Regions from separate parts of the Homo sapiens genome. Here all the other regions are linked to region 1. Evidence: promoter capture Hi-C in 16 types of primary human blood cells and fetal thymus (Javierre and others, 2016). All regions are on one chromosome and are shown on one strand. The core of a region is centred on a gene start or on the middle of the fragment in contact, and the rest is flanking DNA. Distances in the headings are between cores, read along the strand shown. Region 1 holds the start of DYNC2H1 (dynein cytoplasmic 2 heavy chain 1). Region 2 holds the start of PRMT3 (protein arginine methyltransferase 3). Region 3 holds the start of PRDM10 (PR/SET domain 10).

Region 1 (5,117 bases), core at 982-3,481:
CATAAAAATAGCCCACACAGTTTAATGTACAATGCCTCAAACACAACAAAGCTTATTTCTTGCTTATTTAACAACTGCAGACATTATTCCACTCTGTGATTCAGGATCCTAGGGTCCTACTCTTGGAAAGTTTTGCCATCCCTGTTGCTTTATTGTTATCTGCAACCAGCTGGCAAAAGTTAAGGTATTCTCACTTCTTTAAAACTTTGCCTTGAAGACGCACACATTACTTCTTCTCACATTTTATTGGTGAGAATTAGTCACATGACCACACCTGGATGGTAGCCACTTCTTAGCTATGGAAGGGAAAAATAGATTTTGGTGGATATCTGGCTAACACTGTGATATGGTATATAGAGATTGGCTCAGAATTGGATTTTGGTAGGAATCTTGGTTCTACCACTTACCATCTCTGTGTTTTTGTGTAAGTTATTTAATCTGTGAGGTTCTTTCTTCTTTATTGTATGCTTGATACAATACATAAAGTCCGTATCTGTCTTTTCTTCCCACTCTGTGCCTCATTTTTCGTATATAGTAGTGAAAAGGAAACACAAAACTTCTATTTCATGGGGTTTACATGTCAACGGGAGCTTCCATGTTTGAGATCGGTGTTAAACTTGATTCAAACACAATTTCATAGTTTGTGGAAGCCCTAAGTTTCCTGAAGAGTTCTAAAAATTCTTGGGAGGATCACATACTCATGATCTCATCTGCTTTCTAGACTCATCTTCCTACATGTGTTGCCTTTTTATTTACCATATTGTTATGGAAGCTCAATTCAGCCATTTCATACATTTCCACCAAAACAACTCACCAAACCGAGCACTTGTGGGTAATGGAGACTTTCCTGAAGACCTTGGTAAGAGTGATAATGCTCATTGCAGAGCAGGAAACTCTGTAACCATAGTGGTCACTTTGGCTTTCAAAATCTTTTTATTAGCTACACAGTCATCTTGGGTTCCTGTTAGGATTTTTTCCCTCACCCAGTGGTCAGCATCCCACCTCACTGTTTGGATGTTTTCCCATCCAGTGGCCAGACTCCCATCTCTCACTGTTTGGATATTTCATGAGAATTTACATTCATTTCCTTTTATAATTTAGAGCAGTTCAGCTTTTTTAAGTTCCCACTCCAAAATCTTAAGTTGCTCAGCAAATAAAAGGACTCTCTCCTTCCAATTCTCAAATAGTATAGTTTTAAGGGGAGGTTATGATTATTAAGTGCAAACAAAAAAAATCTGCATATGTTTGTGTACCCTAGGATCTTGGGTCAAACCAGTGCTGAGGTGATGAATGACTACAGCAAAAACTTCCTGAGGGCAGGAACTGTGTCCCCAGGGCCTAGTTCGGTACTTGGCAAATTGTGTTAGATTGGTGCAAAAGTAATTACAGTTCTTGCCAAAAAACCGCAATTACGTTTGCACCAACCTAATAGCATGTAGTAAATATTTTTAGAAGAGAATTACTGAATTGAGAAAGTGTTTGACGAATGTTCGGATGAATGACCAGCAATTTAGTAGTTTATAGTAATGCCATGAAGTAGAAAATGACAAAGACCGTTTTCATATCTGTATTTTCACAGAATTTGGTTGCGGTTGTTATAAAATAAACTAAAAAGTATCATTTTACATTTTAGCTATTTTACAAATATGGTTGTGCTCGGGTAATGATTGCAATAAAAAATTGCTGGTTAAATTATTCTAAAATTAATAATAGAAAAAACGATGTTGGGAAATGCAGCAGCACAGAAAGGAGCAGAGGGCGACTGAGAAAGTAAATTAACATTGTATTGAATTCCTAGTCTTTATAAGCTTCTCTAAAAAGCGATTTTTAAATAGTAATCTTTTACAATCCGCACTACACCCCTGGTTGTGAGATAGTATTTCCCCTTCTTAACAGATGTGTACCTTGACGCTGACAGACTGGTTTGCTACCAGGTGCACGTGGAGAGCGAGCACTGGAACCCAGCTCTCCTAAATCTAGATCACGCTGCTGTACTTGAAGGCTAGATGTCTCTCTTCTGATTATGCGTGATAAGAAATCAGTAAGAAGAATAAAAGACATGTTTGAGAGCCAACATAAACTTGTCCGAACCCCTTACAATCGATGACCGCAGGGAGCCGCTGAAGAGCTCCGAGGCGGTCGATAGCCTCCGCGAGCTTTGCGTGCGCGTGCCCCGAGAGGGCAACGCCCACCGCGCGCCGCCAGCGACGCCGCCGTAGTGCTCCGTCGCCATAGCGACTACCCCTGGCAACCGCGAAGCTCTGCGGTCCCGCGGTCGGGCTACGGGTTTGAGCAAAGCTCCTCTCTTCCCTTCACTTCCCTCCGGACTGGTTTCTTCTTCCTTCCCCCTTCCCCCAACTTCCCTCCACCCCTTCCAATCATGGCGAACGGGACTGCGGACGTTCGGAAGCTCTTCATCTTCACTACTACCCAGAATTACTTCGGGTTGATGTCTGAACTCTGGGATCAGCCACTGTTGTGCAACTGTCTTGAAATCAACAACTTCTTGGATGACGGCAACCAGATGCTCCTCAGGGTGCAGCGATCCGACGCAGGAATCTCCTTTTCCAACACGGTACGGTTCCTTGCACTCCTGCCTGACCCCTGACCACTCTTCAAGTCCCCAGGCCCAGCCAGAGGGACGTCGGGTCACACTCTTTAGCTTTACCAACCAGATCCTTTTCAGGAACCCAAGGCTGTCTCCACTTCTCCTGCATTATTGGCTTAGATGCGTTGGCCTCGTGCTTAAGCAGGTAGTTTCCAAGCTTTGCATCCTACCTGACCGAAGCATGTTTCCCTTCCATACATCTGAATAGAAGCAATTAGATTGTGTTTTATTTTAAATTTTTATACGGAGTTTCGTTCTGTCGCTTAGGCTGGATGGAGTGTAGTGGCGCGATCTCTGCTCACTGCGTCCTCCACCTCCTGAGTTCAAGCGATTCTCGTGCCTCAGCCTCCCGAGTAGCAGGCGCGCGCCGCCACGCCTGGCTAATTTTTGTATTTTCAGTAGAGACGGGGGTTTCACCACGTTGGCCATGTGGGTCTCCATCTCCTGACCTCAAGTGATCCGGCCTCCCAAAGTGCTGGGATTGCAAGCATGAGCCACCGCGCCCGGCCTATATTCTACTTTTTAAGAAAGACTGCAGATACGTTATAACTAAAAAGAAAACATTTACTTAGTTATTTTTATTTTTTTCTCTCCCCTTTTTGAGTTTTTTTTTTGGGGGGAAGGCAAATTCTAGTCTATCTTTTTTGGATCAGGCTCTGATTTTAACATTGCCCAAGGGAAAGATTAGTTAGGAATTTAAATTTTTGTGAAATGATATATTTCAAAATAAAGTTTGAATTCTTTTTTGGTGTACATCATGTGATATACTGATTTATTAATTGCACTGCTCCCTCCACTGGCAGGATTGCTTAAAAAATGGGTTGCATTTGCAATCAGGGCTTATATATATAAGCCTAAAAGAAAAACACAGAAGAAAATTGCCTGACACATTAAAGGGGACTCAGTAAATAGATTTAAGTTAATAAAACAAAGACATATTTTAAACCTCTTCCTTTGGTGTTCACCCTTATCCCTAGGTCTAGCAGAGTTTTTGACACTCAGCAAAAACATTCAGTGCCTTTTTTTTTTTTTTTAGACGCAGTTCGCAGTTTCGCTCGTATTACCCAGGCTGGAGTGCAATGGCACAATCTTGGCTCACTGCAACCTCTGCCTCCCGGGTTCAAGCGATTCTCCTGCCACAGCCTCCCAAGTAGCTGGGATTACAGGGCATGTGCCACCACACCCAGCTAATTTTTTGCAATTAGTAGAAATGGGGTTTCACCATGTTGGTCAGGCTGGTCTCGAACTCCTGACCTCAGGTGATCCACCCGCCTTGGCCTCCCAAAGTGCTGGGATTACAGGTGTGTGCCACCGTGCCTGGCTTCAGTGCATTTTTATAGGATGATTGAATCATTCACCCTATTCACTATCTTTATTCTTAGGTTTAATTCGATTGTATTTAATAAACATTTACTTTGAACTCAGTACATGCAAGGCACTTTGCCAGGCATGATGGGTTTACAAAGATATAAAAAGGATGGATAATCATAGCTAACATTTATTTTCACTTTAGACTCTGTCAAGCACTGTTCTAAGTACTTTATATGTATTCGTTCATTTAATAGCCATAACGACATTGTAAGATAGGAACTATTCTTTTTCTTATTTTATGGCTGAGGAAAGTAAGGGACAAAATTTACAACCTAAATGTTAACTTTTCTTTTTCTCCAATAGGTAGCGTAGTTCAGGATAGAGCCCCCTGCTTTCTGCCTTTCCTAGACTCACTCCAGTGGCTTAGGATGACATATACTCAGCAAATGATAAAATCAGGACACACTGTTGTAAATGCCACTGAAAGTTCGGATAGAATGCAGTAGGAAAGATGGAAAGGGGTTTGGATTCGTGAAAGTGTATCTTGGCTTGGGTATTTGAAAGTTGAAGGTAGAACTTTTTTTTTTTAAGTTAAAGCTATTACTAGTAAAGCCCAACGATGTATCTGTTATTTTTAGTTGTACACTTCGCTACAGGTTTTTAGTCATATTTGAAAATATTTTGTTATGTCTTCAGTTGTACTTTAGTTGCCTGATAGTTAGCGTGATTCAATAAGTTAATAAGTCAGCAAATATTTATTGCCTACCTACTAGTACTGGGGACAAAGCCATGAACACAGAGTCCGTATCTTAAAGGAGTAACATTGGAATGGACAAAGGTAGGCTAAACGCATGCTACAGATATATGTAACATAATTTTGGGTATTGATAAGTGCCGTTAAGATAAAAATAATGTTATAGTAGTGATGGGGCAGCGTGGGGAACTAAAGATATATAGGGTGGGAGATAATCCCTCTCTGGATTAGTTATCTTTGAAGCGAGATTTGAATGATGAGTTGCAGGCAGGCATAACCTGGGGGAAGAGTGTTCTAAGCAAAAGAAACTGTAAGTACCAAGGCCCTGAGCTGGGTTTTAACTTAGTTTCCAGGGGCAAGAAAAAAAATCCAGAGTGATTGCTGGAGTTTATGGTATGAAGGAACATTGTGGTAGATGAGAAAGGAGAATAAGGCACAGGCTGA
Region 2 (5,117 bases), core at 913-3,412, about 83 Mb before region 1:
AGATCGCACCACTGCACTCCAGCCTGGGCAACCGAGCGAGACTCTGTCTCAAAGAAAAACAAAAACAAAAACTAATATTTAATGGATTCTGTCCTCTAGGAATTTACAATTAAGGGAGAAAAGTACATTTAGAAGTACATTTAGCAATAATATAAGGCATCATTTTTATTCAGTGAATACATTCAGTATCTATTAATACTATGGGCCAGGCCACATATTATGTGCCAGAGAAATGAAAGTAAAGAGACATGGCCCTTACTTACCCTTATTGTTCAGTGCTGTGGGGTATCACCAAAAAAGAAAAAAAAATCAAGTAAGCAAATGGTGGGTGCTAAGAAACTAACAGGATACTCCTGAAATAATGGTGGAAACTATTTTAGAAATGGCCTGAGGAAAGTGTTTCTGGTTGAGACCAAAGGGACCTACCCATGTGTAGAACATTCAATGATTAGCAGTAAATAAAAGGCTTAAGGGTGGGACCCAAGGTGAAGGGTTCCATTGGAAAGAGGCAGGATTATGCAGGGCCTGATAGGCCAATTAGATAAACTCTGCTAGAGCCTGGGGCACTCCCTCCTAAGCAAGAATTCTGGGCCGGGCGGTGGCTCGCGGGCAGGTGGATCACCTGAGGTCGGGAGTTCCAGACCAGCCTGACCAACATGGAGAAACCCTGTCTCTACTAAAAATCCAAAATCAGCCGGACGTGGTGGCGCATGCCTGTAATCCCAACTACTCGGGAGGCTGAGGCAAGAGAATCGCTTGAACCCGGAAGGTGGAGGTTGCGGTGAGCCTGAGATCGTGCCATTGCACTCCAGCCTGGGCAACAAGAGCGAAACTCCGTCTCAAAAATCAAACAAAAAAAAGTTCTATGGTTTGAAGAGATATAAGGAAAGGAAGAAAGGGACGTGGCATGAGGCAGGCAGGGGAACATTTGTGTTCTTCCCCACACAGCAGCCAGATTGTTACTTTCTCAACACATCTGAGAGCATCACTCCCTGGCTTAAATAGTTATGTCTGAGCACTTTACATGTATTAACTCGTTTTATCCTTACTGTAGTTCTGAAGTTAGTCCAGGTTTTTTGTTTTTTGTTTTTTTTTTTTTAAGATGGAGTCTTGCTCTGTTGCCCAGGCTGGAGTACGGTGGCACAATCTCGGCTCACCACAAGCTCCGCCTCCCGGGCTCAAGCAATTCTCCTGCCTCAGCCTCCCAAGTAGCTGGGATTGCAGGCGCGTGCCACCACACCTGGTTAATTTTTGTATTTTTAGTAGGGACAGGGTTTCACCATGTTGGCCAGGCTGGTCTCCAACTCCTGACCTCAGGTGATCCGCCCGCCTCAGCCTCCCAAAGTGCTGGTACTATAGACGTGAGCCACCGTGCCCTGCCCAAGTGCAGTTATTATCCTTGTTTTGTATTTGATGAAACTGAGGCAGAGAGAGGTCGAGTAACTTGCCCAAGATCACAGTTACAAAGTGACGTGGGTAGGATTCAAACCCAGCAGGCTGCCTCTAGAGTTCACGTTCTCACTTAACCAAAGATTAAAATCCGTCTTGGGGGGTTTGACACCTATCTGTCCCTGCAGTAGACCCACCCTGGCCCATGCAGTTCGTTCCCTCTCGCCAGCTGCACCCCCTCCAGGACCTGGGAGCCCAGAAACCAGCCGAGCCTCCAGCGTTTGGCCTCCTCCGCCACCAGAGGGCGTCATGGGCCGATCGCCCCTCCGCTAACCGCTCATCCCAGGAAAAAGGGGCGCACAGAGGACAGGATGCCAACCCCAAAACCGCAGCGACGTCTCTCTGCCTTGGGGCTCACAGCAGCGGGCCGCGACCTCCCACTAACGCCTGCCGCAACCCAAGGAGGAGACAAAAGTCATCTTCCGGGCTGCAACATTAACCGTCATCAGCGCGCCTCTTCAGCGCGCACTGCGCCAACCCTGCGGCAGGAGGAGGCGGAGCCCCCGCTCTCGCCCCGCCCCCACCTCACGTGACCCGCACGGCGCCTCGAGGCCGGAAGCGATTGCGAGCCAGCGCGCGCGCTTCGGCGTTCCCGGCGGTCTGCGAAGTTTCCGGAGCCCGGGTCCCGCCGCGGGTTCGCGCTTGTGCTCGCGCTCGTTCCTGGAGTCGGCGGCCGCTGCGCGCGCTCGTTGCCCAACCCGGTCCCCGCCCCCAGACACGCCGGGCTCTCGGGGCACCACAGCCATGTGCTCGTTAGCGTCAGGCGCTACCGGTGGGTACCCTGGCCCCTCAGCACCCGGCTCGTCCAGCCCCAGGCCGCGCCGCTGTGGGGCCGGTGGAAGACCCTCCGGGACACGGGCCCGGGCAGGGTGGGGGGCTCGCAGGGATCATGAAGGAGGTGCTGAGTGAGGGCCGCGGGCGAACGGGGCGGAGGAGAGCCCATCGTCACCTGCTCCTCGAGCCCCCGGGCCGCACCGGTGTCCGAGGCCGATCTGATTGTTGTGTGTGTGTGTTAGGCGGCCGGGGCGCTGTGGAGAATGAGGAGGACCTGCCAGAACTGTCGGACAGCGGGGACGAGGCCGCCTGGGAGGATGAGGACGATGCAGATCTCCCCCACGGCAAGCAGCAGACCCCCTGCCTGTTCTGTAACAGGTTCGTCCGCCTCAGCGCCTGGCCTCTGCCCTAGGGTGCCCGGGCGCGTGGGGTCTGTGTGCCCAGGAACGCCTTCGGGCGGGAGGCAAGCCAGAGTGGCCTGTCTTTGAATTCTGGAACCACTGGTCTGGGGTGAGGGCTTGTGGAGAAGGAGGACCCTCGGTAGTAGAGAGGGGGAACCGTGAACTGGAAGGCCGGTTGTACTGCAAGCTTTTGACTGGTAGTGCATTGAATCTGTGGTTCCCAAATCTTGTCACTTGAGACGCTGAAAACAAAATGATACTGAACTCTGCACCTGAATCCTTCCAAGTCAGGGATGGGGTCTAAGAATATTCTGTTTTTATGAGGACAAGATCGGAAGTAACAGTGAAGTTACTAACGAGTTACTACTAACGAGTAACATATTTGGCAGCCACCCTGAACTAGATAATCCCTACGGAGCCTTCCGGCTTTACCATGCTAATTCTTTGACCAGTACAGAGCTTCTCAGGTGAAACATTTCTTTTTTATTTGAGCGGTTTCCATAGTCTAAGAAGGAAGTTCACCTTACTTAAGTAGGACTTTTCACTTAAGGAAAAAGACTGTAGTATCAATAATTTGCTCAAGGTCACAAAGCTGTGGTGTGCTTATTTCCAAACTCACATTCTTGCCACTTAAAATTCTGCCTGTTAGTCTTGGGAAGCTTTGGCTCCTGTCCTAGGCAAGTAGGCATGAAAGAGGCCCGGTTGGCATTGGCCGGTGTTACTTTAATACATTTTCCAGTGTTCCCTGTATCTGGGCATGGTGCTGAGTGGTGGTGCGTTAGTGTTCTCATCTGTAGCCCCATTGGGTAGATAGAATGCCTGTATATATTCTAGTTGTCATAAAATATTTATTGAGCACCAGTGGTACCGTGGCTGTGATAGCCTCCATAAATAGTCGACATAACCTATCTCGGTAAACATTTGTGGAAAACTAATGCTCCACATGTGTTAGGAATATAGATAAGGTATACAGCTTCTCTGCTGTGTATTCCTGTCTTTAAGTAGCCTTCAGATTTGCATGTCACATAATAAAGAGGATTGATCCTCACAGTGTCTGTGATGCAAGTACGTTGGGAATACTACAAGATCACTTTTGAAATAAGGCACTTGGGGAGTATGCCAGCTGTAAAATTACATTTTATGCTTTATTTCTAAAAGCAGTTTGAGCTGTGCCAGTTCAAAGCCTCTGAAAGCAGAGTTGACACTTAGAGGAGAAAAGAATCTCAAGTAGAGAAATTGTATGACTTGAGAGAAACAGACTCTATCAAAGGGAACTCTCTTAAAAGCCTTTTGATAAAATCAGTGATATTATTTGACAAATAAATTCACTTTGACATTTAAAGGATAATTGGTTTTAGGTATAAAATGGGACTCAGAAGTACTAATTCCCTTTAAAAGTGCTGGATTCCCTTCCTTTCAGATACAAGTGTGTTTGTTTTTTCTTAATTGGAAGTAAAACTAGAAACCAGCAGAGTTAAAAAAAAAAAAAAAGTGTATATGTAACATGAAATCAGTATTTAGACTTCTTAGGGGACTATTCCATGAAGCTATTGCTTGATTTTTCAGGTTATTCACATCTGCTGAAGAAACATTTTCACACTGTAAGTCTGAGCATCAGTTTAATATTGACAGCATGGTTCATAAACATGGTGAGTAGTTTTTAGAATAAAGGCAATTTAATTTGTGAAATTTGGGCAGGCATGGCAGCTCACACCTGTAATCCCAGCACTTTGGGAGGCTGAGGTGGGTGGATCACTTTAGGTCGGGAGTTCAAGACCAGCCTGGCCAACATGCTGAAACCCCACCTGTACTAAAATACAAAAGTTATCTGGGTGTGGTGACGCACACCTGTAATAGCAGCTGCTCAGAAGACTGAGGCAGGTGAATTGCTTAAACCTGGGAGGCAGAGGTGGCAGTGAGCTGAGATGGTATCACTGCACTCCAGCCTGGGCAACAGAGTGAGACTCTTCTCAAAAAAAAAAAAAATCTGTGAAATATAAGTTCAGATTTTATAGTTTTTCAGACCCTTTTCTGTACGAGTTTAATATGGCGAATCACACAGCAACATCTTGTGGAAATGGAGTTTTTTTGACAAGCGGTCCTTGAGAAAAGATGAATAAGTCACTCTTCTAGACAAGATTCACTGTATTTAAGCTTATATTAGCTTTTCAACTAAAAACAAAAACAGACTTGGCATGTGATTACATTTTTACATTTTATGTGATTACATATTAGATTTAGGGAGAGCAAGTGTAGATGTAGGACTTGAAAAAGGACGCAGGTCATTTGAAAAAAGACAATCAGCTCAAAGCATGACATGAACTTCACAGCCTACGAGACTGAGTTTTATACAAAGTTCGGTAGAGACTGGAAAAAGAGTGATGAAGTTAAGATTAATATGCAAAATACTCAGGTGATGTTTCTATTGAAACTTTTATTTAAACACACTTGCCTTACAATTAAGGCCTTCCACTTTAAATGGATGTAGAAGAG
Region 3 (5,117 bases), core at 1,218-3,717, about 27 Mb after region 1:
CACGCATTATTCTTAAAACTAGAAGGAAAAACAAAACAGGCAAGCAGAAACTTAGGTAGTGCCAATCAATTTGGGATTATATTGAGTTGTGCTATCCTTTATACCTCCATAACCTCTAAGTAAAAACCATTCAGAGCCCTTGAAGACAGGAACCTTGCTTTTTCTAAAATATATACTCAATTACATTGACATACAATATATGATTAATATGTGGTGGAGCATGCTACAAAATATTAGAAAAACTAAAAATGAATTCTTTGAAAAAGCAAAACAATTTTGCCTTGCAAAACGAGGAACAGCATAGCAGAGTGGGAGCTTACGGGGTAGAAGGCACAAGACATTTGTCTTGATCCAAAACAAACAAAAATGTAATCCTTTCACTAAACGTCCCTGTTCACTTTAAAATGGTTCATTCTGTGTCAACTTCACCTCAATTTATTGTAAAAGTAAACCTAAAGGCCGAGCGCGGGGGCCCATGCCTGCAATCCCAGCACTTAGGGATGCTGCGGCGGTAGGATTGCTTGAGCTCAGCAGTTCGTAACCATCCTGGGCAAAATGATGAAACCCCGTTTCTACAAAAAGTAGAAAAATTAGCCAGGCGTGGTGGTGCACGCCTGTAGTCCCAGCTACTAGGGAGGCTGAAGCAGGAGGATCCCTTGAGCCCGGGAGGTCGAGTCGGCAGTGAGCCAAGATCGCGCCACTGCACTCTAGCCTGGGCAACCAGAGACCCTGTCTCCTAAATAAACCTAGCAAAGTTCCTTTCTAAATACCCCATATTGAATAAACACTGTTTAAACGCTGCTTTGCCCCCAACCAATCCTAATTTTAAAAAAAAATCTTGTTTTCTCTATTCTAGAACAACAAATAAGTACTGCTCATCAAAGTGGAAGCTATTGTGATGCTGGAATGGTAGGAAGATACAAAAAAAATACAATGTAATAATACACCTTCTTGCCTTACAGCGATGGAGGAGTGATAGAAACAAAGAGAACAGGTCAGAAAAAGAGGCCACAAAACAGTCATGAGTGATTCTGCTGTTTTTAATAAAGGTTAAGTACTGCTAAGTTTAGAGAATTTGGGGTGACGAGACAGGCAAGGTTTCAACAGGCAAAGCAGCAGAATTAGGGCACAGGGCAGAGCTGGGTGGGTCTCATCACACATCTAATCCTCGATGACAGCACAAAGCCACCTCTCCTTGTGCTTAAGTGTACACGCACATTGATTGAAAATGCACTAAAATCCAACTCATCCACCAAGCAAGGCTAAAGGCGCGCACACAAATTCAACAGCGCTGCGTTCGCGTGGCTGGAGGGCAGACGGGGAATATTCCATTTTACTTAGTAGAGTATCAACACCTAGCTGCAGGGTTAAACCTGCTTAACAAAAGCTGGCGAGGGGCTGGAGAGGTGCACACCATCAGCCCTCTCCCGAGCGCCGACCGGCCTCGCCCTGCCTCTGCGCTGCACCCTGGGTGCAGGCGGACTGGGGCAGGGCCGCGACCCCGGCCTCGGCCTCCGCCTCCGCCCGGCCAGCCCCGACGCGGTGCCACGGGACAGACCCGCAGGGGCCACCCCACACCCCTGCGGGCCGGCCCCCCGCCCCGGTCCCGGACGCTAGCTTGGGAAGGCAGGCCGGGGGCCCAGCCATCGATGGCAAGTGGGCGGCGCGGCCTCCGCAGACAAAGCTGGGCGCCCCATCGAACAGGACCCTCCGCCCCACGCGCCCGCAACCGGCCAGCCCCGGAGCCCTGCCCGCACTGCCACCCCCAGCCCGGCGCCCGGCCCCCAGCCCCCGGTGCTCGGCTCCCGGCCGGCGGAGACCTGCCCGCCGCGCCCGGAGCGCCCGCGCAACCGCCGCCGCCGGAGCGCGCAGGCCGCCCAACCGCCGTCCCGGCCCAACCAACGCGGGCAGGGGAGGAGAGGTGCGCGCGGCCGGCGGAGCGTGCGAGCCACTCGGGGGTCGCAGGGGGAGGCTGCGCGCGGCGAAGGCAGGGGCGACGAGACGCCGAGGCCGGCGCTGAACGCGGCGCCAGGAGGGCCTGCTGGAGGGGGCCTTGCCCTCTTCCCCTTGGAAGGTGCAGATGGTTTGACCCCCCACCCCGAGTGAGGTGCCTCGTCCCAGCCCCGGCTGGACTGTACCATCGGGCGGTGCCGCCGGGATTTCTCCCCCCCACCACCACCATCAATTCCCCCCCCACCCGGGTCCGCGGTCGGTTGGCCCCGGCCGGGCTCTGAGACGCGGAAAGAGCTGGGCGCCATTTTGGGTGGGACTAAGCAAAGACGAAACACCCTCCCAGTCTATGGGGTAGTCTGGACCCTGGCTTATCTGGTTCCCTTAATCCTTTAGGTACTTACACGACGTTGGGTGAGGGGAGCTGGAAGATCAGCGGGTCCCCGATCCTCTCTCCCTAGGGGTGATAGAAATCAACCCCCCCCGCCACCTCCAGGTGGTTCTTCCCGCCGCAGAGTGGGAGCAGCATAAAAGGCGGGGTCTTATTAGCATAATCTGCCTGGCAACCTGATCTCGACGTTATATGATTGGTTAAACTCTGTAAGCCCCATGCCGTGCCTAGAGACGAGAAACGCTGGGGCGAACTGACAGGCCCAGATTTAGGAGTCATGACGAAGATCCTGAGACGCTTATTCAGTCTGCAGAGAAGCCAAAAGGAGATTCACATAATGGCCCAATGACTGAAGGCCTCTTTATTTCGTGCTCTGCTGTTCGTGTAAAACCCAATCGCAGAGCGGGTCTCAGGCGGCGCTCGCCTGCGTTTCTACTCTCAGCCAATCAGAAAACCCGACTCTTCGCATTGGGGTCAAGCCCCCGCTGCGGCCCGCGTGCTAACGGGGAGGAAGCTTCCAGCTGTGCCTGGGTGTCTCGGGCGCCGAGGGCAGCCTGCGCCCGTGCTAAGCCCGCCTCCCGCGCGCCCGAGGGCCCGGTGTCCCGGAAGACGCGCGGGGGTGAGGCGGCCCTCGCGTCCGCCCGCCCCGCCACAGATTGCCTCCGAAGTGGCCTGGCCGTGGAGCGCCGGCGAAAACCGAACTCCCGCCCGGCTCCCGGAGTCGGGAGCCTGCCGGGGTCTCGCCCTCAGGACCCCCAGGGAGCGGCCGGGCGCCGCCTATCACCCTGACCCACCGCACCTTGAGAGCGCTTTCACTGCGCCTCTTTTTTCTCCTCTACCAATCTGGAAAGGAAGTGAGTGTCATTTCAGACATTGAGAAACATTATTCAACACTGGTTACCCAGTGACTCAGCTCACTCCTTAACCGCAGGCTTCCACATCCTGCTGTCCCTTAAAATTGCCTTCACAAAGGGCAGCCAAGAGCCCAGCTTTGGAGAGATACCCAGCTCCAACTACCCACTGGCAGGCAATACGCAGGGCAGCTAGATGGCAGAGAGACCTTGGACCTTCGGACCTTCGGGGAGCGGTTTTCCCTTCGGTGATATCTACCTTGCTATGTTCGTGATATCTACCTTGCTACGTTATTTTGAAGATTAAGTGAGCTCTTACTTTACCGAGTAAAGTGCTTTGCTTAGCACACTGTCTGGAACTTAAATGAGAAGTACTGACAATATAACTTACAAAAATCCTAAACTATTGCCTGAGAAAAAGAGGGAGACAGGACAGCTAAGCAAAAGACGAGAATAGAAAACACCCACAGCGTGAAAAACTGTAAAATTAACTCAATAGTATTCTCTTTACTGTTTTTTGTTTTGTTTTGTTGTTTTGTTTTTTGATACGGAGTCTCGCTCTGTTGCCCAGGCTGGAGTGCAGTGGTGAGATCTGGGCTCATTGCAACCTCTGCCTCCCGGGTTCAAGCGATTCTCCTGCCTCAGCCTCTCTAGTAGCTGAGATTACAGGCATGCACCACCACGCCCGGCTAATTTTTGTATTTTCAGTAGAGATGGGGTTTCCCCATGTTGGCCAGGCTGGTCTCAAACTCTAACGTCAAGTGATTCTCCCGCCTTGGCCTTCCAAATTGCTGGGATTACAGATGTGAGCCACTGCGTCTAGTCTACCATTTTGTTTCTTTAAATAGCTGGAAACAACGTGGAAAGAAAAGAGAGCTTTTTTTTTTTTTTAAACTTCGTGACAGGGTGCGGTGGCTCACGCCTGTAATCCCAGAATTTTGGGAGGCCGAGGCGGGTGGATCGCTTGAGCACAGGCGTTCGAGACCAGCCTGGGCAACATAGTGAGACTCTGTACAAAAAACAAAAAGATTAGCCAGGCATGGCAGTACACATCTGTGGTTCCAGTTACCGGCAGGCTGTGCAGGAGGGTTACTTGAGCCCAGGAAGTCAAGGCTGCAGTGAGCTGTGATCGTGCCACTGCACTACAACCTGGGTGATAGAGCAAGTCTCTGTCTTTAAAAAAACAAAACAACAACAAGAAGAAACTTCAGACAGTTAACTGCTTTGTAAACAACTTCACATCTAGGCCGTGTCTTGTTCTTCCTTAAACCACTGTACAGGTGGCACTGGACTTAGATGAGGCCGACCTTAACATAGCTAGTGAGAGACACTAGTAGCCCTACTCTGGCAACACAGACATGGAAATCAGTTGCCTAAGGAAAGATCATATTGGCTAAGAGAGTCCCTTGAATGCTCCCTTTTAGTGTTACGAGTAGATGAACAATGCCGCAGGTTGGACAGGTCCTTCTGTGTCCTTGCAAAAGCTGCCACTCCACATACCCCTGGCCTCAGTAAGAACGGCTCACTTTTAGATTTAACATCATTACATCCTTGCTGATGAACTGAGATGGTCCCAACTGAGGTCCACTGACCAGAAACAACACCACAGAACCCAAAAGAGAACGCACCATGGGGAATGGGGCTATTCAAACTGAAGAGCCTGAGTTACTCTCATGGCTTTAGAGAAATGTTCTAAAACTTCTAAGTACATAAATATGTGCAGGGAGATTCCTCCCCACAGAGTTTTTATTCAGAGGGTCTGGAGTGAACCTCAGGAATTTGCTTTTTATGTGGATTTTTAAATGATTTTTAAAGTTTACACTGTAAAATTCACTCACTGGGGTATACAAGAAGTATTTATTGAATATGTACTGTGTGCCATTCATTTTTCTAAACAATAAAGATAGAATAGGGAACAACAGCAA

What was found. The method cuts DNA at HindIII sites, captures the fragments that hold promoters and counts their contacts. A CHiCAGO score of 5 or more calls a contact.
Region 2: a contact is called between the fragment with the promoter of PRMT3 here and the fragment with the promoter of DYNC2H1 in region 1, in 3 of 17 cell types (total B cells, total CD4 T cells and non-activated CD4 T cells). The highest score is 7.4, in total B cells.
Region 3: the fragment with the promoter of PRDM10 here is called in contact with the fragment with the promoter of DYNC2H1 in region 1 in 1 of 17 cell types (naive CD8 T cells); the score reaches 8.3 in naive CD8 T cells.

The regions. Positions count from the first base shown.
Region 1 is chr11:103,107,195-103,112,311 of GRCh38, forward strand. DYNC2H1 (dynein cytoplasmic 2 heavy chain 1) reads left to right here and starts at 2,232. Exons shown (of 89, transcript NM_001377.3): 1 at 2,232-2,575. The coding sequence starts at 2,381. RefSeq lists enhancers at 1,825-1,944, 2,015-2,064. The HindIII fragment of the contact is 957 bases long and covers 1,807-2,763 here.
Region 2 is chr11:20,385,554-20,390,670 of GRCh38, forward strand. It overlaps PRMT3 (protein arginine methyltransferase 3), which reads left to right and starts at 2,163. Exons shown (of 16, transcript NM_005788.4): 1 at 2,163-2,221; 2 at 2,466-2,601; 3 at 4,191-4,273. The coding sequence starts at 2,194. RefSeq lists enhancers at 1,871-2,040, 1,914-2,521, 2,522-3,128, 2,984-3,033 and a silencer at 1,874-2,433. The HindIII fragment of the contact is 3,061 bases long and covers 1-2,809 here.
Region 3 is chr11:130,000,368-130,005,484 of GRCh38, forward strand. It overlaps PRDM10 (PR/SET domain 10), which reads right to left and starts at 2,468. Exons shown (of 21, transcript NM_199437.2): 1 at 2,355-2,468. PRDM10-DT (PRDM10 divergent transcript) reads left to right here and starts at 2,257. Exons shown (of 1, transcript NR_024233.1): 1 at 2,257-5,117. RefSeq lists silencers at 1,502-1,681, 1,712-1,761, 1,772-2,091, 2,802-3,191 and an enhancer at 2,602-2,691. The HindIII fragment of the contact is 10,759 bases long and covers 1-2,853 here.